Linked DNA regions of Homo sapiens: regions 1, 2, 3, 4 and 6 are each linked to region 5. The links are contacts of gene promoters, found by promoter capture Hi-C in blood cells and fetal thymus (Javierre and others, 2016). All regions are on one chromosome and are shown on one strand. The core of a region is centred on a gene start or on the middle of the fragment in contact, and the rest is flanking DNA. Distances in the headings are between cores, read along the strand shown. Region 1 overlaps LPIN1 (lipin 1). Region 2 overlaps GREB1 (growth regulating estrogen receptor binding 1). Region 3 holds the start of LOC124907734 (a long non-coding RNA gene). Region 4 overlaps E2F6 (E2F transcription factor 6). Region 5 holds the start of PDIA6 (protein disulfide isomerase family A member 6). Region 6 overlaps LOC105373429 (a long non-coding RNA gene).

Region 1 (4,568 bases), core at 1,198-3,697, 960 kb after region 5:
AAAAAAAAAAAAAAGATGAAATTAATTTTAAAGCTATATTTCATTTGACCACAGTATTTCCAAAATATCATTTCAACAAGCAATCAATTTTAAAGAATTATTAATGAGATACATCACATTTCTGTTTACATACCAAGTCTTTATAAACTCCATTATGTATTTCACATGCGCAGAACATCCCAATTTGGACAAGCCACGTTTCAAGTGCTCAGGAGCCACCTGTAGCTGGTGGTTTATTATATTGGACAGTGCAGATATAAGACCTTTCTAGATTCTCATTCTTTCTCTAGGTCTGTGGAGATAAAATAGTGGAGGGAAAAATAGTGGTTTAGGAGGAAAATAATGTAGAATATTTAGAACCCAATAATAGATGAAAAAATCTGTTCAAGCACTGTATGTTAATTTTAAGGATTTAAAAGAAACACTTTAAACACAACTCTGAGCGTGTTTAATGCTCAAAACATCTGTAATGTTTTGCCTCATGAATGCAGCATAATGACTGAGTCAGGTTATGTAGCTCTGACTATCACCAAATGGAATGACAAATTAGGATAAATAGCTACATTTCCACATTTGGAATTAGGTATTTTCTGTAAAGAGACAATTGACAGCACACACGAGCACATTTTTGGATTATGTAGTTTGATTAAGCACGAAAGTGTGACCAGAGATGATCAGTTCTACACATGGGTGAAACAGAAAGTGAAATAGGTCATTTGGCAGTTTCCTGCTTTTGTGTCTCAGAAAATTCATGCTGATTTCTTAGCAATTTCAATATCCGGTGCTCTGCCATTATCAGATGTCTGAGTTTCTTTATTTTCTTAAAAATGTCGTTGTTGAGAGTAGTCAAATACTTTACGTAATATATATAATCTTTATATAAAGTATATATACTTTGTAATTATATATAATCTTATATATAATCTTTATATAAAGTATATTATATATACTTTATATAATCTTATATATAGTCTTTAAAGTATATTATATATACTTTATATAATCTTATATATAATCTTTATATAAAGTATATTACATATACTTTATATAATCTCACTTGATGTAATTGACCTCTGATTTTGTCTTTCTTTTAATGTGTATCACGTGGTGGTATCCAGTAGCCTGGTAGATTGCAAAAGGACTGCCCCTCATCTTGCAGTTGCGGCCGAGGGAGGTCTGTCTAGTTCTTGCCCTCCACAGTCTTCCCTGTTCCATCCTTCGGAAAGGTAGAGGAGTTATTTTCCCCATTGGGATATATTCAATAATGAAAAATTTGATCTAACTCTTACTATAAGTCTATTTTACCATTAACCAAATTACTTATGAAGAAAATACCTGTAGATTATATGAAGTGAAAATTTTGATTTAACTTTTACAAATCGATTTCACTAACCAAATTACTTATGAAAAATATGTATATAGATTACTCTTTTCCTTTCGTTATAAGCATTTGTAGATGATCAGATTTTTTTTTTTTTTTAATTCCTAAATTTGACTCTCTGGAAATTATGGTTAAGCATATAATTTTACCTAATTCTGTGAAGTGCTTTGAAAATGAGAATAATGAAATATAGCTTGGGAATATGATCTTCTGTTTTCTGTCTCGGGTTGTTTGACAAATAAGTTTACAAGATATTTTTGGAATACCACTTTAATTTATTATAAACATTTAAGTAGTTTATTGGGCTGTCTGAATAATGGAGTCAGACACTTTCCACAGCATTTCTAGAACAGAATCTTGGAGAATGGCCTGGGCTGGGTCTCAGGCTGAGGATCAAAGGTTGGTGTGTTCACTCGATGTAGTCATCTCAGATTTCTGCCTTCATTCCCTCAGTTTTGACCTACCTACTTTGTGGACTTACATGGTTTACTTTGTAAGCCTTAGCAAATGAAGCTACGATTAATTTGTACGTGGAAAACCTTTTGTCTTTTTGATTAAAGATCCAGACCTCAGGATGTACTTCATTCAGAGGCTACATTTGCAGAAGAAAAGTCCGTTTAAAATGAGGAAAACAAAGTTGTTAATAGTTAAAACTAACTAGCCTTATTGGGACTGGCAAAAATACTGAAAACTTTGATAAGGCTAATAAATACCTTGTTTATGAACATCAGTCATTGACCTTGTAAGCTTACTTTTTTGAACAACCCTTGATCTTAAAATAATAATATTTCATGACGGAGCACTTTGGAGTCATCTTTCTGGTAAATCCCACTTGGCAGTGGGCCCCATTCCTGCGTCCTTTTTGGTCTGTCTGAATTCCCTCAGTGACGGTCGGCAGAAAGCGCATCTGTGTTTGTGCACGAGACCTTTGGAGAAGGGTTGCTGTGGCCTGAACGGGCAGCATTTATGGTGGTGGCCTGTTTGCTGTTGGGGAGGGACTTGCAGCAGACTTTCTCGTAGGGCTGGGCTCCTTATGCGTGAGTTGCACGCCTGAGTGCCTCTATGGGTTTTGTGGCTCGTGGCTTTTATGAAGGGACCAGAATGTTAGGAACTCTGGAGTTGGGAATTGCTGCAGGAGAACCGTGTTCCGCATTTCGTTCTTCTAGAGCAGAGGTTGGTAAAGCACGGCCCATGGGTCAAATCTGGTCCACCATCTGCCTCTGTCAGACTTTCCCGGGCATAGGCAGTTGGTTTACATACTGGCTGTGGCTGCTTTCACACCACCACAGCAGCGAGTGGTTGCGACAGACGTCGTAAAACCCGTAAAGCCCGAGATATCTGCCACTGGGCTCTTTACAGAAAATGTTTGCCGACCCCTGTTCGGAGCAAGCTTTGTCTAAAGGACTTTATTTCATTTAGTGACAGTGAGATAATTTATTGCTGCAAAGAACTTATAGCCAAATATGTTCTATTTTGTCTGGTGAAACAGAATGGCAAGAGCTTTTTAGATACTTTGAGGTTTGGGAACAGCACCGTTGAGGGTGAGAAGTTGGTTTTGATGGACTTATTCCATGATGATGCTGGAGAAAGAGTGGATTGCGGTCACACTTGTAGGTACTGAGGCCCCTCGCTGGAGGCCACAGCCTGCGCTTTTCCCATTGCAGTGATACCGAACACGTGACTGTAGACGCTTCAGTGCCACCAAAGCGTTGTCTCTTTGGAGAAGTCCAGTTGTGGAACTGGAAGAGCAAGGAGGTTGAAAGGCCAGGAGCCTTTCCCACATGGACGTGGGGGGGCCCACGTGCCTTCTTATAGGACTGCTCCCTAAAGGGCAGAAATGTGTGTCTGTTGGGAGCAGGGTGTCCCATTGCAGAAGCTCTCCTAATGTGATGTCAGGAGCCTCCTCTCCCCAGGCAGGCGAAAGAGAGCGTGCAGGCTGCCCCGTGGCAGCACGTCATTAGAAGGGCTGGGAGTCATGGGCACCAAGGGAGCAGGGACCACCCTCTGCCCCTTGGTGTGAGATGAGAGAGATGGCACTTGGTCTGGCTGCTCTATGCAGCTTGATCAAAGAGATTCAGGATCAGTTTAGCCCACAAGGTCCCTGTTTGTTGGATACAAGTTATGTATCATCATGAACTCACCTTGTATTGACAGGAAAGTTATATTCAATTGGAGTTGAACTCTAGGTAAATGAGACCAGAAGCATCAGTTTCCGAAGAATAGATAAGGTCTGGGAAAGAAGACGGCAAGGGAAACTGAAAGCTTTATTTCCTGCTTTGTCTGAAAAACCCTGCCGCCTTCCTCTAGAGGAAATGATGTGGGAAAATAAGCAATAATTAACCATGTTATTATGCGGCAATAAATAATTACAAGAATTGCTGCTGTAAATAATATTTCTCTAAGTTGTTTAGAATATGGTGAGGATCTTGTGGATAAGTTAATGACTTTTGGATGGTTACTTTGGCTGGGCAGAAGTAAGACCTTGTTTGGGTCTTCAGAGTAAAAATTCAGGAAACATGGAGGTGGTTACTGAGCGAGCCTTAACCAGTTGGTGAGTCCCTTGTGAAGTATTCCTGGAAGACATAAGATCTTAGAAAATTTCAACTTGTAGGCTCCTGCCCAACGTTATCGAGTTTATTTGTGGCATCCAGCATCTTTGGTAAAATTGGCACATCATATAATTTCCCTGTTTCCCAGGCCAGTGCAGATGATAAATATTTAAAATATGGACTCTAATGAGTGCCTGCCCGAGCCAACCAAGACCCTTTTGCAGCCCTCTGACAGCAGAGGAACTTGATTTGGAAACAGATTGCAGGAGATGCGAGTGCAGAGTGGGGTGGGGAAGGGTGGTCTTTTTGAGGTAAGAACAGACTATTTTTCCCTTTCTCTTTCCATCTCTTTCTTTTGTATTCTGGGCCACTTCTTTTTCTCCTCTCCCCCGCGGTGCACCAGGCGGCAGGGTGGGGCGGGCGACCCACGTGGAGCGCCTTCCATGGGAGGCGCTTCCCTGCCCCCTGGTGGCCGGAGGAGGGATTTGTCATGAGGCTCCGCTCAGAGCGAACGACAGCTGGGGGTGCATTTTCTGGGCTATTTGAGCCATGGAGCTGGGCCCAAAACATTTACAAAAGTTTCTTTTCCCACCTTAATTTTCGCTTTGTGTTTTCCTTAAGTCCTTCCGGTTCCCGAC
Region 2 (4,112 bases), core at 101-2,600, 790 kb after region 5:
AGGGCTGGAGAAGGGAAGCGTGTCTCCCAGAGTCACAGGGTGGGGTGGAGTGGGAGGGTGTTAGTGGCAGAGCTGAGACCCCGAATCACAGCCTGATGCCTGATGTGTTTCTTTCATAGTCCACTCAGCAACAAGGAGCCATGCTGGTGTGGGGTGCGGAGGGTCCTAGCAGGAGTAGCTCAGCTTAGCCCTTCCCTGAAAGAGGCTCCGTGGGGGCTCTGGTACCGTGGGTCACCACTGATGCCTGCCCTTCTTTTTTTTTTTTTTTTCCTTTTTTTGAGACGGAGTCTCACTCTGTCGCCCAGGCTGGAGTGCAGTGGTGCGATCTCGGCTCACTGCAGGCTCAGCCTCCTGGGTTCATGCCATTCTCCCACTTCACCCTCCTGAATAGCTGGGACTACAGGCACCTGTCTCCACGCCCAGCTAATTTCGTTTTTGTATTTTTTTTTTTTTTTTTTGAGACAGAGTCTCTCTCTGTCGCCCAGGCTTGGAGTGCAGTGGCACGATCTCCGCTCACTGCAAACTCTGCCTCCCGGGTTCACACCATTCTCCTGCCTCAGCCTCCTGAGTAGCTGGGACTACAGGCGCCTGCCACCACACCTGGCTAATTTTTTGTATTTTTAGTAGAGACAGGGTTTCACCGTGTTAGCCAGGATGGTCTCGATCTCCTGACCTCGTGATCCGCCCGCCTCGGCCTCCCAAAGTGCTGGGATTACAGGCGTGAGCCACCGCACCCGGCTGATGCCTGCCCTTCTTAAGGGGTGATTTGACTCACTCAGTTAAAATGAACATAAACCCAGATGAATTTCAGATGGGCCAAGCCAAGCGCCTGGCAGGATTTCTGGTGGTTTACCGGGATTGGTCATCTCCGTGAGACTGGCCTAGGGGTTGTACCTTCAGACATTTCCACTGATGTAGATGAGGAAGGAGGGGGCTCCTGGGCCAGGTCGTGGAGAAAGCCTTTGATTGTCGCAGATCCACAGATAGCTAGTTAGGCTGGTCAGGACATGAAGGACCTCGTAAAGGGTTTACAATCCAGAATCCATGTGTGGGCTTGGGGGAAATCGGAACATTCCGAAATTATAGAAAGAGCTGTATTGTGAATATTCATTTTGGGAATAGGTTTCTCAGAGTGGCCTCCTGCCATCCAAAGGGTTAAGCACTGATTTTTTTTTTTAATCCCCTAAACTTACAGGAGAGAATGCAAAGGCCTTTGTCCCACGGAAAAGTGCAGAGCTGGGCCTGTCTCCTAGACCCCTTGTCCAAAATGCTTCCCAATCCTTTCCTGCTGCCTTTTAAACTGACTATAGAATTTACTCTTTTACATCTTTTCTGGATCATTTCAAGGTCAGAAGGACTGTGTAAGGAGATAAGTACACAATCAGATGGGGCCAAAGAGGAACAAATGATTCATGGAACATCCCCAGGGTCATATCACTGTCCGATTGGGATAGAAGGAGTGTGTGTCTTGTAAGAAATCCTCTCTGACTACCGTCCCACGCCAGACACATTTTTCCTAAGTAACGAATCTCAGGAGAGCCCCTGACAGCTACCTGAAGTCCAGCCTTTTTTATTTTCTCTATTCTTAGTCAGGGGCAGAGCCATAATCTTTAGTCGTTGGTAAAGTCAGGGGTTAGTTATAAATTTATTCAACTGCTTCACCTTGCAAAATTAGAAAACAATATAGTAATTCCACTGATTGTGTCTTCTCCTCCCTCAGTAGCACTGTTCATAACCTCTATTCTCAAAGTGACCCGTCGGTGGGATTGGTGGACCGATTGCTCAACTGCAGGGAGGTGAAGGAGGCCCCCAACATTGTGACACTTCACGTGACCTCCTTCCCGTATGCACTGCAGACACAGCACACCCTCATCAGCCCCTACAACGAGATCCACTGGCCTGCCTCCTGCAGTAATGTGAGTGCCACGGGGCTGCTGGGCCCTTGTGTAGCAATATCACTTGGGTTTGCAGAAATTACATTTAGTAACAGCCTTGACCAGTGTGGTTGAGGATAATGGGTTCCAGCTCCTTGGATCTTTGGTTCAACCCAGAGTTAGGTTGTAAACCCTTCTTGGTCTTTTTGGTAACCTTCCTGCAGTACGCCAGTTGGCTTCCTCATCTCGGAAGATGTAATGCAGTTTGTGGGACATTTTCTCTGGTGACTGCCGCTTTCTGAGCAGCATGTGGAATGTTTGTTCTATGGCATTGAATGGAGATATTGAAGGTAGAGCCCTTAGGCGCTGGGGGCTTTGGGCTCCATACAGAGCAACGCTTAATGTCTCCAGAAGCCCTAGGAAGGTTCCTGTTTTCCCTATCCCTGCATCCTTAAGTAGTGAGATTCAGAATCTCCTTCCTCAAACTGAACACATATCCTCAAAACTTGATGAGTTTTTAGCTTATCACCTGACATTTTCTCATCAAAATAGAAGACTAAAACAATCCTGGTAATTTGAGAATTCTGGGTGGTTTGTAGTTAGTTACACAAGAATAAGTAAACGTAAGAGATGAGACTTTTTTGGAGTGCCTCGCAATCCTCTGAGAAACTTTAAAAAATACCTGGCTTCCGTCCTGTGGACTGAGAATCCATGGTGGGGATAGCCATTGTTCATAAGGCACTTCCCATAGGCCAGGGAAGCCCTGCCCAAAGTGCTTCGTGCTGTGAGCTCATGCAAGAGGCAGGTGCTAGGATGAGTTCTCATCTACAAATGGGGAACATGAGACAAAGTGGCCAACAAGAGTTGGGCCACTTGGCTCAGGCCAGGCAGCTAGAAAGTCGTGGAGCTAGGATATGACCCAGGCCACTGGCTCCATGGCTCGGCCCTTAACCACTGTGCTATTTAGGAGTAGAGTTTTCATGCCTTAATATTTTCAACAAACTCCCCCAACTTTGGAATTTTATGTCTGTGTGAGTAAAATTGGCTAGGTAAATGTTTTCTTTGTCTATTGATTTTTAGTAGCAACTGAATGCAAAATAATTGATTTGCCCATTCCTAAAACCAGCTTAAGATTGTAGAAAGAAGCAAATTTAACAAAGAAATGTATATGTTAAAATAAGATAAGGCTGATTTTCTTCTTGGTAAAAACATTGGGACCAAATGAATGGAAAACTCCTGAGCAATGGGGACACACCATTTTTAAAGTATGGGAGGTACTTTGCTCTGCTTCTGCAGATGGAAGAAGTTTATAAAATGCCATCCAAGCCACTGCACAGTGGGCACGATTTGGATGAAGTTGCCAACCCAGGTCATCCGCAGGCCTGGCACACGAACCTCTGACCGTCCCTGCGAATGCAGTGTTGGAGTGACCGACGCTCTTCTTTGTTTTAGGGAGTGGACTTATATCATGAAAATAAGAAGTACTTCGGGCTGTCGGAGTTTATTGAATCCACCCTTTCAGGACACAGCCTCCCCTTGCTCAGATACGATAGCTCCTTTGAGGCCATGGTCACTGCATTAGGAAAAAGGTACTTGTTTCTCTTCTAAGTTACTAGAAGTGCTCAGTAGCTTAAAGGGCAAGTTGAGGTGCGTTTAGCCAGCCAGGGAATTCCAGGAAGGGAGGCCTTTCCTTCCTGAGCAACTCAGTTTCTCCACTAAATGTACCCTGGTTTTTTCCTTCTCCTCTATTTGAATCCCTTTGGGTCAGCGATATCTTTGTCATCCTGTTGCTCTAGAAAATTTTAGAGATGACAATGAGCGGAAATATGCTGGAATGTGGAATTATGTTTTTGAGCCAATGGAGGGTAGGAAAATGGGAGGAAGATAACAAAGCTTTAAAAGAAACTGGAGTGATGATCATAGTCAGCTTTGTTTTTATTTCCGATGCATATCATGTATTGAATGTTTATTTTGTGCCGTTCACTCTTCCATGGACTTTACTTTCATTATCTGATTTGATCCTCACTGCCTCTCTGAGCCACTTGCTACTGTTATTCATACTTTGCAAATGAAGAGGCTGAGGCTTGGAGAGGCCCCATAGCTTTCTCAGGCTACGTGTCTAGCAAGTGACAGAACTGGGTGAGAACCCAGAGTCAATCTGACTGCACAGCCAGCCCCTTTAACCCTGTCGCAACAGACCTCATTTTATAGATGAAATTGAGGCTCAGACAGGCTAAG
Region 3 (4,121 bases), core at 753-3,252, 570 kb after region 5:
TTCTCCTGCCTCAGCCTCCCGAATAGCTGGGACTACAGGCGCCCGCCACTACGCCCAGCTAATTTTTTGTATTTTTAGTAGAGACGGGGTTTCACCGTGTTAGCCAGGATGGCCTCGATCTCCTGACCTCGTGATCCTCCTGCCTCGGCCTCCCAAAGTGCTGGGATTACAGGCATGAGCCATGGCGCCCGGCCAAAACAACTTTTTATACTTAGAATCGAATGTGTGTATTCTTTTGCATCTGCTTTCTTTTGCTGCATACTACGCTTGTGAGAATCCGTACATTGTTGCATTAACCGTACGTAGTTCCTTCATTTTCCTTGCTGCATAGTATTCTATTGTGTGAGTCCACCATAATTATTTTTATTACTTTACCTCTGATGGAAGTTTAAGTTGTTTCCAGCTTGGGGGTACTTATAAATAATGCTGCTCTAAATATTCCACATGCCTCTTGGCCTCTTGGTAAGCATACGTTTCTGGTGAATACTTACTTAGGAGTAAAATTGCTGGATGTAGGGTATGTCTGTCTTCAGTTTTAGTGGATAAAGCCGAACTGTTTTCCAGAGTGACTGCATCTGTTCATATTCTCACTGTGAGAAAGCTCCTGTTGCTCTACACCTTATGAACAATTGCTATTATCAGATTTTTAAGCTTTATTCATTCTGGTGAATGTGGTTTTATTAAATAATTTGCATATCCCTAGTAACTAATGAGGCTAAGCACTTTTTCATATGCTTAATGACCAATCACATATCTGATCGTGAAGGATCCGTTCTGATCTCTTGACCGTGTTTCTAATGGTTTGTCTTTTCCTTATTGATTTATGGGAATTCTTTACATATTTTGGATACTCTGTTGTATTCATTTCCTATTGCTGCTGTAATAAATTACTACAAACTAAGTTAAAACCCTGCAAATGTATTCCCTTATTGTCTGCAGGTGAGAAGTCCAAAATCATTCTCAAGGGGTTGAAATCGAGGGGAGAACTGTTCCCTTGCCTTTTCTAACTTCTAGAAGTCACCTGCATTCTCCAGCCTGTGGCCCTTTCCACACATCACTCTAATCTCTTGCTTCTGTTGTCACATCTTCTGCTACATCTCTGCCTCCTTCTTATAAGAACTCTCATGATGCACTTGGAGGACCACCTAAATAATCCAGTCTAGTCTTCCCATTGCAGGATTCTCAGCTTAACCACATCTGCAAAGTACCTTTTTCCATGTAAGGTAAAACAGTCACAGGTTCTGGGCATCTGGATGTGGACATCTTTGGGGGGTCATTATTCTGACTACCACGTCTAGTATACAAAGCTAACAAAAAATAAATTTTTTTCAAATCAAACTACTACTAAGGTACCAAATCAAAGTGTCAATTTGAAAAGATAATAGTAACACCCAGTGCTGGTCAGAAGAGTGAATTACTAGCCTCTTGGAGAGCATTAGACAACACCTATGAAAGGCCTTAAAAAGGCCTATTCCTTTCGACCCTCTAATTCCACTTCCAGGACTTTGGCATCATCAGACACTGGGGAAGGGTGCAGCCATTAAAAACCATACTTAAAAGATACTTAATGGGCTGGGCGCAGTGGCTTATGCCTGTAATCTCAGCACTTTGGGAGGCCAAGGCGCGCAGATCATCTGAGGTCAAGAGTTTGAGACCAGCCTGGCCAACATGGCAAAACCCCATCTCTACTAAACATACAAAAATTAGCCAGGCGTGGTGGCATGTGTCTGTAATCCCAGCTACTCAGGAGGCTGAGGCAGGAGAATTGCTTGAACCTGGGAGGCAGAGGTTGCAACGAGCCGAGATGGAGCCACTGCACCCCAGCCTGGGTGACAAAGTGAGACTCCATCTCAAAAAAATAAAAATTAAAATTAAAAATAAAATAAAAAGATAAAAATGAAAGATACTTAATGGCATGATACACATTACAAGATATACCACAATATGTTAAGTGCCATTTACCTAAGTGTGTTTCTCAGAACATTAGTTCTATATAACTTCTACAGTAAAATGTTCCATACATATATTTGGGGAATATTGCACCCTTACCCTTCTTTCAGAAATGTATGATAATATTAGAATATTAAAGCCTCCAACAAGTCCTAGAAGAAGAAAAACATAACTACTTAACCCGATATTTCCCAAACTTATTTGACTACAGCTCTCTTTCTTTATGGAATACTTACTAAAATCTTGCAAAACTAGAGTCCATGTAACATACAGAAAATCTTATTGGCCAGGCATGGTGGCCCATGCCTGTAATTCCAGCGCTTTGGGAGGCTGAGATGGGAGTATGACTTGAGACCAGGAGTTCAAAACCAGCCTGGGCAACATAGCAAGATCCCATTTATAATTTTTTTTTTTTGAGCAGAGTTTTGCTCTTGATGCCCAGGCTGGAGGGCAATGGCATGATCTCGGATCACCGCAACCTCCGCCTGCCGGGTTCAAGCAAGTCTCCTGCCTCAGCCTCCCAAGTAGCTGAGATTACAGGCATGTGCCACCACACCTAGCTTATTATAAAAAAAATTTTTTTTTTAAATTAGTGAGGCATGGTGGTGTGCACCTGTAGCCCTGGCCACTCGGGAGGCTGAGGTGGGAAGATCGCATAAGCTGGGAGGCTGAGGCTCCAGGAAGCTATGATCACACCATTCACTTCAGCCTGGGCAATGGAGACAGAACCTTTCTCAAAAGAAAAAAAAAAGAATGCCCCGTTTCACACTGTATGGTCTATCGCATATAAGACAGCTATCTGTTTTGTCTTGTCATTTAAACTTTTTAAAAAAAATTAAATTTTATTTTGTTTTATTTTTTGAGATGGTGTCTCGCTCTGTTGCCCAGGCTGGAGTGCAGTGGCGTGACTTCGGCTCACTGCAACCTCCACCTCCTGGTGGCGATCCTCCCACCTCAGCCTTCCAAGTAGCTGGGACTACAAGGTGCATGCCACCACATCTGGCTGATATTTTTGCATTTTTCGTGGAGACAGGGTTTCACCATGTTGCCCAGGCTGGTCTCAAACTCCTGAGCTCAAGCGACCTGCCTGTCTCGGCCTCCCAAAGTGCTGGGATTACAGGCATGAGCCACTGCGCCCGGCCTAAACTTTTTAAATATATGCATTTACATAAAGTAGCCCACGCAGAAAAGTACTGATGTTCTTTCAAAACCATCAGGAACATGAGCTTTTATTTGAATGAACAGAAAAAAGAAACTGATTGCTATTCTTTGAAAAGAGGACTCTGTTGTATACATACCATAGCCCCCTGTTAACTACTCATTAAAAGTCTTTGAGATTTCTGCAGTAAAACAAGGTGATTACATCTTTGATAATCTAATGCTTCCTAAAATTATTTGATCAGGTAAGCTTTTCTTTGGTATAGAATATATATTTAAAAATCTCACACTCTTAGTGTTCCATGAAACACTCTTTGAGAAACATTGAATTAATTCATTTTTCAAATTTTCCAGTTATAGAAACTAAAGCCAGAGGAGAGAAGTGACAATCCCAAGGTCACCCAGTAAGTTATAGTTAGAGCCCCTCTACGCCAGGCTGCCTCGAAAGGAGAGGTCACTCAGACAGCAGTCACACTTACCTGTAACTGTGGGTTTATAATAAAAAATGGCAAGAATAACATAAATGTCCAGATATTCACCACTCAGCTTACAAACTACAGTTTTGCAAATATAGTCCAAGTCTTCTAAGTACCCCTCTCTGGTCCCATCTCACTTCCTTATAGAGGTAACCACTGTTTTAAAGCTGGTGTTTATCTTTTCTATGCATGTCTTTCTACATATACCACTGTGTTGATTTGCTAGGGATGCCTTAGCAAAGTACCATAAACTGTGGGGCCTAAGCAACAGAAAGTAGTTCTCTCATAGCTCTGGAGGCTGAAGTCCAAGACCAAGGTGTGAGCAGGCTGGTTCCTTTCCCTCTGTCTCCACATGGCCGGCCCTCTGTATGTGTCTCTCCTAATGGCTTCTTCTTCTAAGGATGCCAGTCCGATGGAATCTGGGCCCACCTTAATGACCTCATTTTAATTTAACAACCTCTTTGAAGGCCCTGTCTCCACATACAGTCACATTCTGAGAGTGCTGGGTTAGGGCTTCAACATATGAATTTTGGGGGG
Region 4 (3,990 bases), core at 379-2,878, 640 kb after region 5:
CAGCCCCAGTTATAAATGATTGCTTTAATTGGGAGCTGCTTCAACTATAACAAAGTCTGTTTTCTCCCCTTTAATGCAGTTAGGCCTGGGCTAGACACACATACACCACTGCTCCCTCCCACTCCACACCTCATTGTGATCTTATACCAGGGTGAGTCTGTGGAGATGCAGCCTCTCAGACGGTCTCAGAGCCTCACCTGCCCTTGCTATGACTTCCTGGTACTACAAGTGGGCTAGAGAACATCTGTGCTCAGCTTCTAGAGTGCCAGGTCACAACTGGTTTGAATGATAAATCCTGTACAATTTAATAGATATTTCTTAACAATAACATTCCACTAAATTAAGTGTTGTCAAACTTCCATAAAGGCTGAGATGGTAAATATTTTTGGCTTTGCAAGTCACACTATCCCTGTCACAACCTTTTAACTCTGCCACTATAGTATGAAAGCAGTCAGAAACAATATGTAAACAAATGTGCATGTGGCTGTGTCCTAATCAAATTATTTCTAAGAAAAAGGAGCAGGCCGGATCTGACCTGAGGGCCAGTTTGCCACCCATCACACTAGGTCCCCAGATCTTCACGGTCAGGCTCTGGCCAAGAGGGCCCATGTGCAGAGACTTTAAATAGGACTCTAAGAGAAGCCTCAGGTATGATCAAAGGCTCAGCCAGATTTAGCAATTACAGTCTGAAGCAGCTCACAGCATAGGGAAAAGCCAAAAATCCATTAGTCTCTGCAGAATGAATTATTATGCCCCAAAGTAAAGATGTGTTGATTGGCAGTTTCTTAAAAATAAAACAACTAGGAAACATCACCAAGAAATCATAACTTGAGTGTGACTGAGGTAAATGAAAGCCAGCCCTTACCCCATACACTGTGGAGTAATACAGGGCTCACTTGAACAGTGGTCTGCTGGGGACAAAAGGAAAAACAGGTCAAGAAAATATTCTTCGCTAGGCAGGAGGCAAACCCCCAGGGCAATGCAGAGGGCTGCACTGTGAGCACCGATGGGTCTATCAAGGCTGTCAGTCTTGAGGATGTGTCCCAAGAATGGCCACATTCCTTGGTTCTGATTCTGTCCTCATCAAGCAGCCTTCTGATGCAATTATCTTTCAATGCAAATTTTTCTGCAAGGGAAAGAACGCACTGAGCAGCTGGCGGCTGACAAAAATAATGTTCATTTACACAGAAATCCTACTTTTCCATTTTAAATTCAGAACCTAGCGTCCTGGTTTATTCATCAGTCTTTCAAGAGTTTGTTAATTCCCCAGTGCCTTGGCTGACACCAGACCTTACTTTTGCAACTTTAAGATGGGCCAATTCTTGGTGATTCTTCTAAGAAGCACTGCAGTACAATAGTGAAAAGCAAACTATGAAGCCACACTAACTGGGTTTGAATTCTGGTGATCCTGAAAAAGTTAACTCATCTTTGTGAGCTTTTGGTTCCTCATCTTTAAGATAATAATGACTACTTGACTTGTGTTAGTTGAAGCAAGTTAAATGTGTGAAGTGCCTTGAGCAGTATCGGATGTACAGTGCACGTGCACACAACGGCTCTTAAGTATGACTGCAATAAATCACAGCCTAAGCAGTCGGCCCTCATCCCTCTTTAAATCTTTTTAAAAATGCAGGGTTACCTACTTCTCTGGGAGCTGGAACATCCAATCTGGTTTCTGCTGGAGCTTTAACTGCAATGACGATCTGTTCATGGAAGGCCTGAATGCTATGAATGTCTTGATAGGTCACATATGCTAGTGTAAAACTCAGTCAAGGATCTCTACACAGAATGCTGTTTACTGGGGAGGTAATTTATCTCTAGTAATTCAGTTAACGCAAGGGTAATGTTAGAATGTTTTTAGTTTTTATGAGATACAAGTTCACCATTAAGGAAAGCAGTAAAAAAAAAAAAAATTCATTGATAATCTTTATTATTCACATAAAATTAAGATTTTTATGAAGGGTTTTACAATATTTACAACACAACCTAAAGAGTTTCTTTAAGCTCTACTATTATGATTATGATGGCAATTTCTGGAGAAAAATATTAATAAAGTCTGAGTCCCTAACACAAATACACCACATAAAGAAATTCAAATTTTCACCCTATTCCCTTTTCAGGTATAGTAAGCTAGATCTTACTATAACTTTGAGAAAAAACACTCAGGGCTTTGACAAGAATCCCCTAAAATGAAAGATGGAAAAAAATCTATAAAAAGGCATAAACGACTTAGAGATTAAGTTTCTCAAGACTATCATGTATGATGTTACTTCATCCAAAATTATTTTCCATCTCACTACCTGAGTCTTTTTCGTCTTGTCTCACTGTGTTGCCTCAAATTTTACCAATTAAGTGATTTACTGGATTTCTCTAGCATTTTTTTTTTCTGATTGGCTGCAGTAATGTTGGTGCTTATTTTTTCTTTTCCTTCCAGTACCTGTACTGTGGGAATAGAGGTTTTTGACTGCTGGAGAGAGTTTTAAGTAAATATGAGGTATGGGATAGCTCAGAATCAGTGAGCCCCTCAAAGGGTGCCACAGGGAACAGCACAGCATATAGGTTTAAGACACCCAGGAGGTCAGTACCAAAGACAAGGCTCCCCCAGCCCCACCCCCCAGCTCCCTGAGACACTGAGTTTCAAAGCAAAACTGCTACTAAGCAACAACGCGCTTCTGTGGACACAAATGGCAGTTTAAGCACCACTTCAATGGCAATTCACTGTTTCAGAAATCAACTTCCATTCACAAATTTCTAGGAAAAACATGAACTTCACAAAAGCCAACAAATATTTTATTATCCTTATAGTATTCAGACTATAAAAATGAATACTCACCATTTTAAGTGGTACCATCAACCTTGGTTTGGTACTGTACCCCTGAGGTCATCATCCAGAATTTAATCTAAGAAATGCCACACAGAAGTTAAAAAACCTACTGTTTGTGTATGTTTGAGGTTATACTACTACCAACTTTTACCTAACTTTTTTTTTTTTTTTTTTTGAGACGGAGTTTCGCTCCTGTTGCCCAGACTGGAGTGCAATGGCGCCATCTCCGCTCACAGCAACCTCGGCCTCCCAGATTCAAGCGATTCTCCTGCCTCAGCCTCCCAAGGAGCTGGGATTACAGCCATGTGTGCCACCACGCCTGGCTAATTTTGTATTTAACTTTCAATGGTCTAATTTTATATCTTAAATATATAAATTAAGTCCCCAAGCTGACTCTACTACTTAAGTAATCTGTTTTGGAAGCAGAAATTTTAAAAAGGTATAGACTTAAAGGATATCTTTCATTTTCTTTGTCATCTGTTAACTCAAACAGCTGCTGAGCACAATCCTTAATTAACTCATCCAAAGCATCTTCCATTGCTGATAAGTCAGAAAGTTCCTCCTGTAGCTTCTTTTGTTGGGGAACTGCTCCAAAATTGCTAAGATCAGATCCTCTTTAGAAGAAAAAAAATGTCAGCATCAATACCAACTAGGAGATAACAAAGTAATTTCAAGTTAGGTTATTGGAACTTCTCCAAATGTTTGCCATAAGTGTTTTCCACAACAATAGAAACTAGGGACTTTTAACTTCTGCCGTCTTTGTTCTAGACAGCCATTATTCCTTCTGTACATAAATTATTTATAGTTCTTCATCTTATACAGTCTTTTTCAAAAAAATACATTACAACCTAACAGAAATTAATAACAGCAGAGGCAGCCTAAGGAAATAAAAAGGGCACTGAACTAAGAGTCAATAACACCCAGCTTCAGCCTCAGTCCTAGTACTTACAACGCAGCTTCTGATAAGTTATAATCGTACAGTACTTGAGTTCCTACACATGAAAACATAGGGTGGGCTAAATGACAGTGCCTCTGCTAACATGTGAGGAGTCTGTATCTTTCCCTAGTGTACACATTCTGTCTGAATATAATGATTATATTCATCATTTAAAAAAAGACATTATTTTCAGGCCAGGCATGGTGGGTCACGCCTGTAATCCCAGCACTTT
Region 5 (4,459 bases), core at 1,406-3,905:
ATTTTTCTAAACATTTTGCATATATTAAGTCATTTAAGAACCCTATGTGGTATGTGTCATGGTGCCCATTATTTCACAGACCAGGAAACTTTAACACAGAAAGGATAACTTACCTAAGATCATATAATTAGATAGACCCAAATTTCTAACCGAAGGGCTGGAGAATGCAGGGGTATAATCCACAGAGCATCATTAGGTAGACTGTGGCAGAATTAGGTACTTTCACTTCTCTTTGCCAATCAAGGACAGCAATAACGTCAGTCCTCTCCTCTTCATGCTGTTACAAGCAGGCTGCAGTCACCAGAACAGACCAGGGTTTTTCACCTTAGGAATGTCCTTCCCTTTCCGTATAAAGACGCTCTTTACTGACAGTATTAAGATAGACTTGGGTTATTCTTTTTTCTAGTAATGGTGAGGGACCTTTGTTTGTCTTTAAATTTTGCCTAGTTCTCACAAGAGCCTCCTCTGCTTGTACACGGCTACCCAATGAAAATGCTGTGTTGATTAAGGTTTGAGACTAAAATTCCTAAAAAGGCAATGTGACCTAGCAGGGTTACAAGGAAACCTAACATACTACTGAGAAAGAACAGACAAAAGATGTGGACATTCTGAATGCATAAAAGTAGCCAACAACTACCTCCAACCCCCAAGAACACAAAAAACCCTGGGCTCACTTAAGATGACAAAGTAGGTCAATGCTGACCAATGACGTTCTGTTTCTAAAATTCACATCACCATTCCACTCAGTGATAATGAACACCAATGGGAAATTGGACCATCCGAGTGAGTGTCTAGAATCTCTGTGAGCAGATGGCTCTGCCATCTGTGGTTTTCCATTCCTCCATGGCAGTTAAGGATGCTATAAATTCACATCAGTAACATCTCTGTCCCACATCTGCTAGGAGGAGTCTACAGTCCCAGAGCAGTCATCTAGAAACCATGAGGTTTCCCAGAAAGGCTGCCATTTATTAAAATGAGTTAATTAATAGACTCACGGACTCTTTCAGGGTCTAGTCTGAATTCACTCACAGGAAACTAAACAGACTAAACTCTTTTCCCCTCATCTACTCTCTCCACAGTAATATGGCAAATATTTACATCTCTTTAAAACATGTACTAGCTGGGCCAGGTGACTGACACTTGTAATCCCAGGATTTTGGGAGGTTGAGGAAGGAGGATCACTCGAGGCCAGGAGTTTGAGACCAACCTGAGCAATACAATGAGACCCTGACTCTACAAAAAATTTAAAAATTAGCCAGGTGTGGTGGCATGTGCCTGGATCCCTTGAGACCAGGAGTTCCAGGCTGCAGTGAACTATGATGGAAACCCTGCACTCCAGCCTAGGAGACAGAGCAAGACCGTGTCTCAAAAAACAGAAAGACATGTACTAACTCATTAATCCTCAGGACAACCCTAAGGGAGTACTATTATCAGTCCCTAAAATGGTGAACACCGTTGAAAAGGCACTGGCACAGAGTGGTTAAGTAACTTGCTCCAAGTCACAGAGCCAGTAAATAGGGGGAAGGTGGTCTGAGGCCAGAGCCGAGGTTAAGGACTGTCAGAGCCAAGGCTGTGACCAAGGCGAGCCCGGCAAGGACAGGACCCTCGGCCTCGCCCACTAAGAAGCAGACATTTACAGAATTCCTAAGACGCCGCGTTCCATTTCGTTTTTAAGGAGTCCGATCACATGCGAAGCGCCCCTGCGTCTTAAGCCCAGCTTTTGGAAGGCACTGTCCCTTTCTAAGGGAACTATGGGTCCTTATTTCAGGACTGAGATTTAACATTTCAGTTTTTCGTTTCTGAGACAGAGTTTCACTCTTGTTGCCCAGGCTGGAGTGGCGCGATCTCGGCTCACTGCAACCTCCGCCTCCTGGGGGTTCAGGAGATTCTCCTGCCTCAGCCTTCTGAGTAGCTGGGATCACTGGCGCGCGACACCACGCCCGACTAATTTTGTATTTTTAGTAGAGACGGGGTTTCGCCATGTTGGTCAGGCTGGTCTCGAACTCCTGACCTCAGATGATCCACCCGCTTCGGCCTTCCAAAGTGCTGGGATTACAGGTGTGAGCCACCGCGCCCGGCTTAACATTTCAGTTTTTAAAAGTAGGAGCTGCATAAAGCAGGTGGCAGAAACAAGCAGCAGTGCAGGACGCCCGCCAACCTCCGTCCCCACGCACGAGTTCGAGAAGAGCCCGGAACAAGCTCCCCTGCGACTCTCCGGGAATACAGACCCCCTCCCCGGGATCCGGCCGGGGCTGGGCTCCGCGGCTCTCCCGCCCGGCCCTGGACCCCGCGCCCGGCTCCAGCGCACGAGGCTCCCGCCCCCCGCGGCTGCGGAAGCCCCTCCCCACGGGCGCCCGAGTCTCCCGCGCACCCGCACCTCCGCCGGGGCAACCTAGCAGCTCCTCCGGACGCCGAGGCCCGCGCCTCCCGCCCGCCAGGCCCACTTCCGGCCGCCTGCGGCCGCGGCCCGCCGGGGAACGGCCTAGAGATTCGAAACCTTTCAGGCCGACCCCAGCTCGCCCGCCTCCCTCCGCTGGCCCGCACCTACCGAGCACCAGGAGAGCCATGCCGAGCGCCGGGCTACGTGCAGTCCCCACCGCCGCCGCCGCTTCAGCCCTGCAGCGTGCCGCACGCCGCGCCCCCGCGCCCACGTCCCGCCCCAGGCCAGTCCGGTGGTCCGAGGGGCGGCCGCGCGGGGGCGGGCCGGAAGGCGCTCGCCAAGCCGTGGCTGCGGCTCATTGGTCCGGGCGGACATCGCTCACTCACATATCCAATGGGAGGCGGCCGGGTAGAGGTTACCGGTTTGGTTTTTTTTCACGGGGGCGGTGGCGAGCAGCGGAAGGCGGGGCCTGCTGGGGGCGGGGCTGGCAGTCTCGGCTCGCACCGCCTCAGCTCCTCCGGGCCCTCTCGGGGTGCTGCTCGGAGGGGAGTCCAGTACTGGGCGTTTTTACCTTAGTTCCTTATTCTGCACCCCCCCACCCCGCCTCCTCCTTGCCTGTGTGCGCCCCCACCCTCTTTATCCCGGGGGAGCGTGACTCGGCCTCAGGGCACCCACGGTCCTGGGAGCTGACAGGGAATTCCTCTTGTGCCCGACGAATATTCCGTGGACACACATTTGCTCCGCACGCGCTGTCTGCAATGTAATTCGACAAGTTTCTATTTTGTTGAATTACTTTTGAAAGTTCTTCCGTCCAGGGCGCATGGCTCTGCAGAGCCTTCTCCTCCTTCTCTGGAGAACCCCAGGGACTTAAGCGGTAGCCTCCTCGCTGACAGGGTCTCCACTTTGTCCTGGGGGGCGAGGGGGCTGGCAATGCGCTCACGTGGGTGTGTGCTTTGTAAAATATGCAAAAGTGAAAAAAAATATGTTTGTGGGGCAGGCTGGCGAGCAGTGGCATGATACAGTTCACTGCAGCCTTGAACTCCTGGGCTGCAGTGAGCCTCCTGCCTCGGCCTCCCAAAGTGCTGGGATCACAGGCATGGGCCACCACGCCCGGCAAAAGTAAAAATTTTTTTGCTTTTTTTTGAGATGGAGTTTTGCCCTTGTTGCCCAGGCTGGAGTGCAAAGGCGGGGTCTTGGCTCACTGCAACCTCTGCCTCCCGGGTTCAAGCGATTCTCTTGCCTCAGCTTCCCGAGAAGCTGGGATGACAGGTGCATGTCACCACGCCCGGCTAATTTTTGTATTTTTAGCAGAGACAGGGTTTCTCTTGCCTCAGCTTCCCGAGAAGCTGGGATGACAGGTGCATGTCACCACGCCCGGCTAATTTTTGTATTTTTAGCAGAGACAGGGTTTCTCCATATTGGCCAGGCTGGTCTCGAACTCCCGACCTCAGGTGATCCGCCTGCTTCGGCCTCCCAAAATGCTAGGATTACAGTTGTGAGCCACCACGCCCGACCTAAAAGTAAAATCTTTCAAGCACAAGTTAAGACCACTGTATCTTTCCGCCTTGATTCTCCCTCCTATGTTTGGAGTGGACTCGGACATTTTGTTTTTGTATTAGTAATTTCTCCATATTGTAGTGTGTAAGGCATAAGTATTCTTAGGCAGGGGTCCAGGAGTGGTGGGGGCCGGCTGGTGGGCTTCCTGGAGGAAGTGGCACTAGAGCTGCGTTTGGAAGATTTTTCAGGCAAACTGAACTCAGAGGCACAGCAGCCCTCTGAAGTCACGGGGGCCTCTCCTGGAAGCCACATGCCAGCATTGATTTTCCCCAGGGAGGCTGCTTGTCCCGGGACAGAAATCCTCAGCTTGGTACCCCGGGCAGCTCCTCCTGAATGTGAAGGTGCGTGGGAAGCCCAACCGGTGATCGCAGGGCTGTTTGGGATTCACAGCAAAGGGCAGTGGACTGCGAGCCTGTTCCTCCAGGCCTGTCTGCTTTCCCTGAAGGGCGCCTGAGGGGCAATGAATGCTGTTTGTTTTTCTGACCCCTTTCCTGCATTTGACACATTTCCCCCCTTAAATTT
Region 6 (4,076 bases), core at 158-2,657, 600 kb after region 5:
GCTTTAGAATGTTCAATTCTCTCTCTTCTTTGTAAGCACTGTGGCCCTGTGGTAAATCCATCACAGATAAAATGGCCTCTACATGAGCCATGTGCTAAAAAAGGATACGTACACCCATTGTGTGTTGAGTCTAAAAGTTGTTTCTCAAAAAGTTTTGGATTGTCCCAAATTTTATATGTGAGTTTGCTGATTCAGTCATTCAATAAATATTGTGATAGACATTCTGCTATGTGATTGATATGCGATAGACATTGTTTTAGGCACCCTGGATAAAGCAAGGGACCAAGGCAGGCTAAGACCCCATCCTCATGGAGCTTCAGGAACAGCAGTGACGACATACAGTAAACAAGTGCATGAACATGTGTGGTGTGATTTCATGTGGAGATGGTGCTATAAAGAAGAGTAAAACAGGATAGGCTGGGCATGGTGGCTCACGCCTGTAATCCCAGCACTTTGGGAAGATGAGGCAGACAGATCACTTGAGGTCAGGAGTTTGAGACCAGCCTGGCCAACATGGTGAAACCCCATCTCTACGAAAAAATACAAAAAAATTAACCAGGCATGGTGGCACATCCCTGTAGTACCAGTTACTTGGGAGGCTGAGACAGGAGAATCACTTGAATCTGGGAGGTGGAGGTTGCAGTGAGCTGAGGTCGCACCACTGCACTCCAGCCTAAGCAACAGAGTGAGACTCTGTCTAAAAAAAAAAAAAAAAAAAAAAAAAAAGCTGGGTGCAGTGGCTCATGCCTGTAATTCCAGCACTTTGGGAAGCCAAGGTGGGCAGATCACAAGGTCAAGAGATTGAGACCATCCTGGCCAATATGGTGAAACCCCATCTCTACTAAAAACACAAAAATTAGCTGGGTGTGGTGGTGGGCACATGTAATCCCAGCTACTGGGGAGGCTGAGGCAGGAGAATCGCTTGAACCCGGAAGGCAGATGTTGAGCTGAGATTGTGCCACTGCACTTCAGCCTGGTGACAGAGCAACACTCCATCTCAAAAAAAAAAAAAAAAAAAGAGTAAAGCAGGATAAAGAATTGGAGTGATTGGGGTGTACTCTTTTTGAAAGACTGGTCAAGGTAGGTTCAGTTAGAAACCTACATAAAGGAAGACAACAACCAACCCATGTGAAGATGTGGGTGGAGAGCATTTCAGGAGAGGAGGCGGCAAGTGCAAATGACCTGAGATGGAAATGAGCTTGGTGCGCTCCAGGAAAAGCAAAAAGGCCAAGAGAGACAGGACTGCAGAGTGCTAGGGAGTCAGTAGGAGGAGATGGAGCCCAAGAAGTAGGCAGGGTACACTGTGTAAAGAATATGGTAAGGAGTTTGGATTTTATTGTGAGATGGGCAACCGTTGGAGCCCTTTCAGTAGAAGAGTGAAGTGATCTAATTTACGGTTTCAAAACTTCCCTTCTGGCTACTATGTGCAGAAAAGACTCAAGAAAGACAGGTGTGGAGCCAGGGAATCTCAGTGGGGGGCTATTTTATAATAGAAGCCCTCTGAGAGGTGCTGGTGTCTTGGTAGTGGTGAGACGTAGGCAATTTCTGGCTGTATTTTGAGGACAGAGCCACAGGACGTGTTGGTTAATTGGATGTAGGAAGTGAGATAAAAGAAATAAATCCGGCTGGGAGCCATGGCTCATGCCTGTAATCCCAGCACTTTGGGAGGCCGAGGTGGGCGAATCATGAGGTCAGGAGATCGAGACCATCCTGGCCAACATGGTGAAACCCTGTCTCTACTAAAAATATAAAAATTAGCTGGATGTGGTGGCGCACGCCTGTAATCCCAGCTACTTGGGAGGCTGAGGCAGGAGAATCGTTTGAACCGGGGAGGCAGAGATTGTAGTGAGCCGAGACTGCGCCACTGCACTCCAGCCTGGGTGACAGAGTGAGACTCTGTCTCAAAAAAAAAAAAAAAAAAGAAAGAAAGAAAAGAAAAAGAAAAAAGAAATAAATCAAATATGACTCCTGGGTTTTTGGCCTGGGCAACTGGGCAATTAACTGAGATTGGGAGGACCGGGGGAAGAACACATTTGGGTGGGTGGCATCAAGAGTTCTGCTTGGACAAGTTAAGTTTAAGAAACTTATTAGTCATCCATCTGGAGATGTCAAGCAGGCAGTCTGGAACACATGCTCGATGCAGGAATAACGAGGAGAAAACTATTTATGGAAAGAGGAGCTCCGTTCTGTAATACATTGTGACACCTGGTTGTGAGCCTTCTCCTCTCCTAGGTCTTGGTTTTCTGTTTTGTAAAATGATGGGCTTGGCTGGTCTCTGAGGGTCTTTTCGGTCATGCAAGTAGAAAAGAGAAGATTCGCATTGAAATTCACTGAGCAACAGGAGAGGGCTAGGCCTGCTGCTGGCCGGACATAAAACCGTGAGACGGAAGACCCCAAGAAGACTGGCAGCTTATCTTAGGAATCTGAATTGGAAATGAGTCTTTGCAAAGCAATCACAGGCTTGTTCGAAAGTGGGAGTTCTGGGGCAGGCAGCAGTTTAGCAGCAGCAGATGAATTTGCTCAAAGCAAAGCGGTATAAAACTTGGTATAAACAGGATTTGCAGGGAAGACAGTGAAGTGATGCTACTTCACTTCCTGGATCCTCTATCACTGTAACAGGTAAATATGGGCACCTGTGTCTGCCAGGAACATTGACGTTTAATAGAGAATTTTTTGTTTTGCTTTTTGCTTTACCTGTTTTTCTTTTTTTTTTTTTTTTTTGAGACTGAGTCTCGCCCTGTCGCCCAGGCTAGAGTGCGGTGGCACGATCTCGGCTCACTGCACCCTCTGCCTCCCAGATTCAAGCAATTCTCCCGCCTCAGCCTTCTGAGCAGCTGGGATTACAGGTGGGCGCCACCACGCCCGGCTAATTTTTGTATTTTTAGTAGAGACGGGGTTTCACCATGTTGGTCAGGGTGGTCTCAAACTCCTAACTTCGTGATCCACCCGCCTCGGCCTCCCAAAGTGCTGGGACTACAGGTGTGAGCCACCGCGCCCAGCCCTTACTTTACCTTTTTTGACACTGGCCTACATTGCCTGGATATACACGTAGCTTATTTTGTTTTTTTTCTTTCATTTTTCTGTTCATATTTAGTCTTCTCACTGTACAAAGTGCTTTCATATTTCTGAACACCACATTGGGTCAGCATAACAGCCCTGTGGCTAGGAACATAATTAGATAATCCTGTTTTGGAGATAAATAAACTGAAGTTCAGAGAGGTTGAGTAACTCGCTCAAGACCACCCAGACACCATAAGGATGAACCTATTTTGAACCCGGGTTTTATGGATCCCTATGATTTCCTCTTTCTCATTATTCCATTTGGTCTTCCAAATGGAGAGGCTTACTAAAGATTACTTGACCAATTCCTGGATACTCTACGGCACAGTTGATTATTTTGTGCTTTTCTTTTCAGATGGGAATATAAAAATGACACTGGTTTAGGTTTTCATGTTGCTTTATAAAGCCTCCCTGGTATTAAGTAGTGAGGCATGTGGTACACTTCTGAACTAGTGTTTTTTTGTTTTTGTCTTTTAAAGTCTTTCAAATACAACTCTTAGACACTATAACAAGTTTAGGAGTATTTGGGTTTTCTCTTCCACAGTGATGTTCAGCAGAGGGGAAGGAAGATCTTAGCAATACTGTCAGTGGAGGGAAGGCTAAAGTGGAAGCTTATGCTTTTCAGCTTCTATGATTTGGATGATGAGATGGCCAGGTGATTCTAATCCAGAAGTGCTTTCTAATTTGTTGTAATTACTATTGCTGTGTAACCAATTATCCCTAAACTAAGCAGCTTATAACAACCATTTGACTACCCTCACAGATTCTGTGGTCAGAAATTGGACATGGCAGTGGGATGGCTTGGGAGCCTCAGCTGGGAAGACTTAATGGCTAAGAGTGACTCAAGAGCTGGGGGTTGGAATCCCAGGAGACATCACCACTTACTGTCTGGTGGTTGATCTGGCTGTTGGGCGGAACCTCACTCAGCCAGGGCTGTTGATTAGGGAACCCACATGTGGCCTTTCCAGAAGGCCTGGGCTTCCTCACAGTGTGGAGGTTCAAGGTAGTGGTACTTT

What was found. The method cuts DNA at HindIII sites, captures the fragments that hold promoters and counts their contacts. A CHiCAGO score of 5 or more calls a contact.
Region 1: a contact is called between a fragment that was not itself captured here and the fragment with the promoter of PDIA6 in region 5, in 1 of 17 cell types (total CD8 T cells). The highest score is 5.6, in total CD8 T cells.
Region 2: a contact is called between a fragment that was not itself captured here and the fragment with the promoter of PDIA6 in region 5, in 1 of 17 cell types (megakaryocytes). The highest score is 5.0, in megakaryocytes.
Region 3: a contact is called between a fragment that was not itself captured here and the fragment with the promoter of PDIA6 in region 5, in 1 of 17 cell types (M2 macrophages). The highest score is 5.0, in M2 macrophages.
Region 4: a fragment that was not itself captured here is called in contact with the fragment with the promoter of PDIA6 in region 5 in 7 of 17 cell types (naive CD4 T cells, total CD4 T cells, fetal thymus and 4 more); the score reaches 7.7 in naive CD4 T cells.
Region 6: a fragment that was not itself captured here is called in contact with the fragment with the promoter of PDIA6 in region 5 in 2 of 17 cell types (M0 macrophages and endothelial precursors); the score reaches 7.0 in M0 macrophages.

What each region holds. Positions count from the first base shown.
Region 1 is chr2:11,774,968-11,779,535 of GRCh38, forward strand. LPIN1 (lipin 1) reads left to right here. Exons shown (of 21, transcript NM_001349206.2): 6 at 1,119-1,226; 7 at 4,552-4,568. Among named protein-coding and RNA genes, the nearest start is that of MIR548S, 9.8 kb to the left of the region's middle. RefSeq lists an enhancer at 3,961-4,568. The HindIII fragment of the contact is 643 bases long and covers 2,127-2,769 here.
Region 2 is chr2:11,599,080-11,603,191 of GRCh38, forward strand. GREB1 (growth regulating estrogen receptor binding 1) reads left to right here. Exons shown (of 33, transcript NM_014668.4): 16 at 1,721-1,916; 17 at 3,327-3,463. Among named protein-coding and RNA genes, the nearest start is that of MIR4429, 60 kb to the left of the region's middle. The HindIII fragment of the contact is 4,830 bases long and covers 1-3,765 here.
Region 3 is chr2:11,381,525-11,385,645 of GRCh38, forward strand. LOC124907734 (a long non-coding RNA gene) reads left to right here and starts at 3,477. Exons shown (of 2, transcript XR_007086217.1): 1 at 3,477-4,121. The HindIII fragment of the contact is 2,707 bases long and covers 650-3,356 here.
Region 4 is chr2:11,448,372-11,452,361 of GRCh38, forward strand. It overlaps E2F6 (E2F transcription factor 6), which reads right to left. Exons shown (of 7, transcript NM_198256.4): 4 at 3,280-3,435; 5 at 1,641-1,755. Among named protein-coding and RNA genes, the nearest start is that of E2F6, 16 kb to the right of the region's middle. RefSeq lists a silencer at 956-1,217. The HindIII fragment of the contact is 6,201 bases long and covers 1-3,990 here.
Region 5 is chr2:10,810,130-10,814,588 of GRCh38, forward strand. It overlaps PDIA6 (protein disulfide isomerase family A member 6), which reads right to left and starts at 2,656. Exons shown (of 13, transcript NM_005742.4): 1 at 2,549-2,656. The coding sequence starts at 2,567. RefSeq lists enhancers at 563-672, 1,659-1,718 and a silencer at 2,209-2,958. The HindIII fragment of the contact is 7,767 bases long and covers 1-4,459 here.
Region 6 is chr2:11,412,452-11,416,527 of GRCh38, forward strand. The region is part of intron 2 of LOC105373429 (a long non-coding RNA gene); the gene reads left to right. Among named protein-coding and RNA genes, the nearest start is that of LINC00570, 21 kb to the left of the region's middle. The HindIII fragment of the contact is 4,524 bases long and covers 1-3,669 here.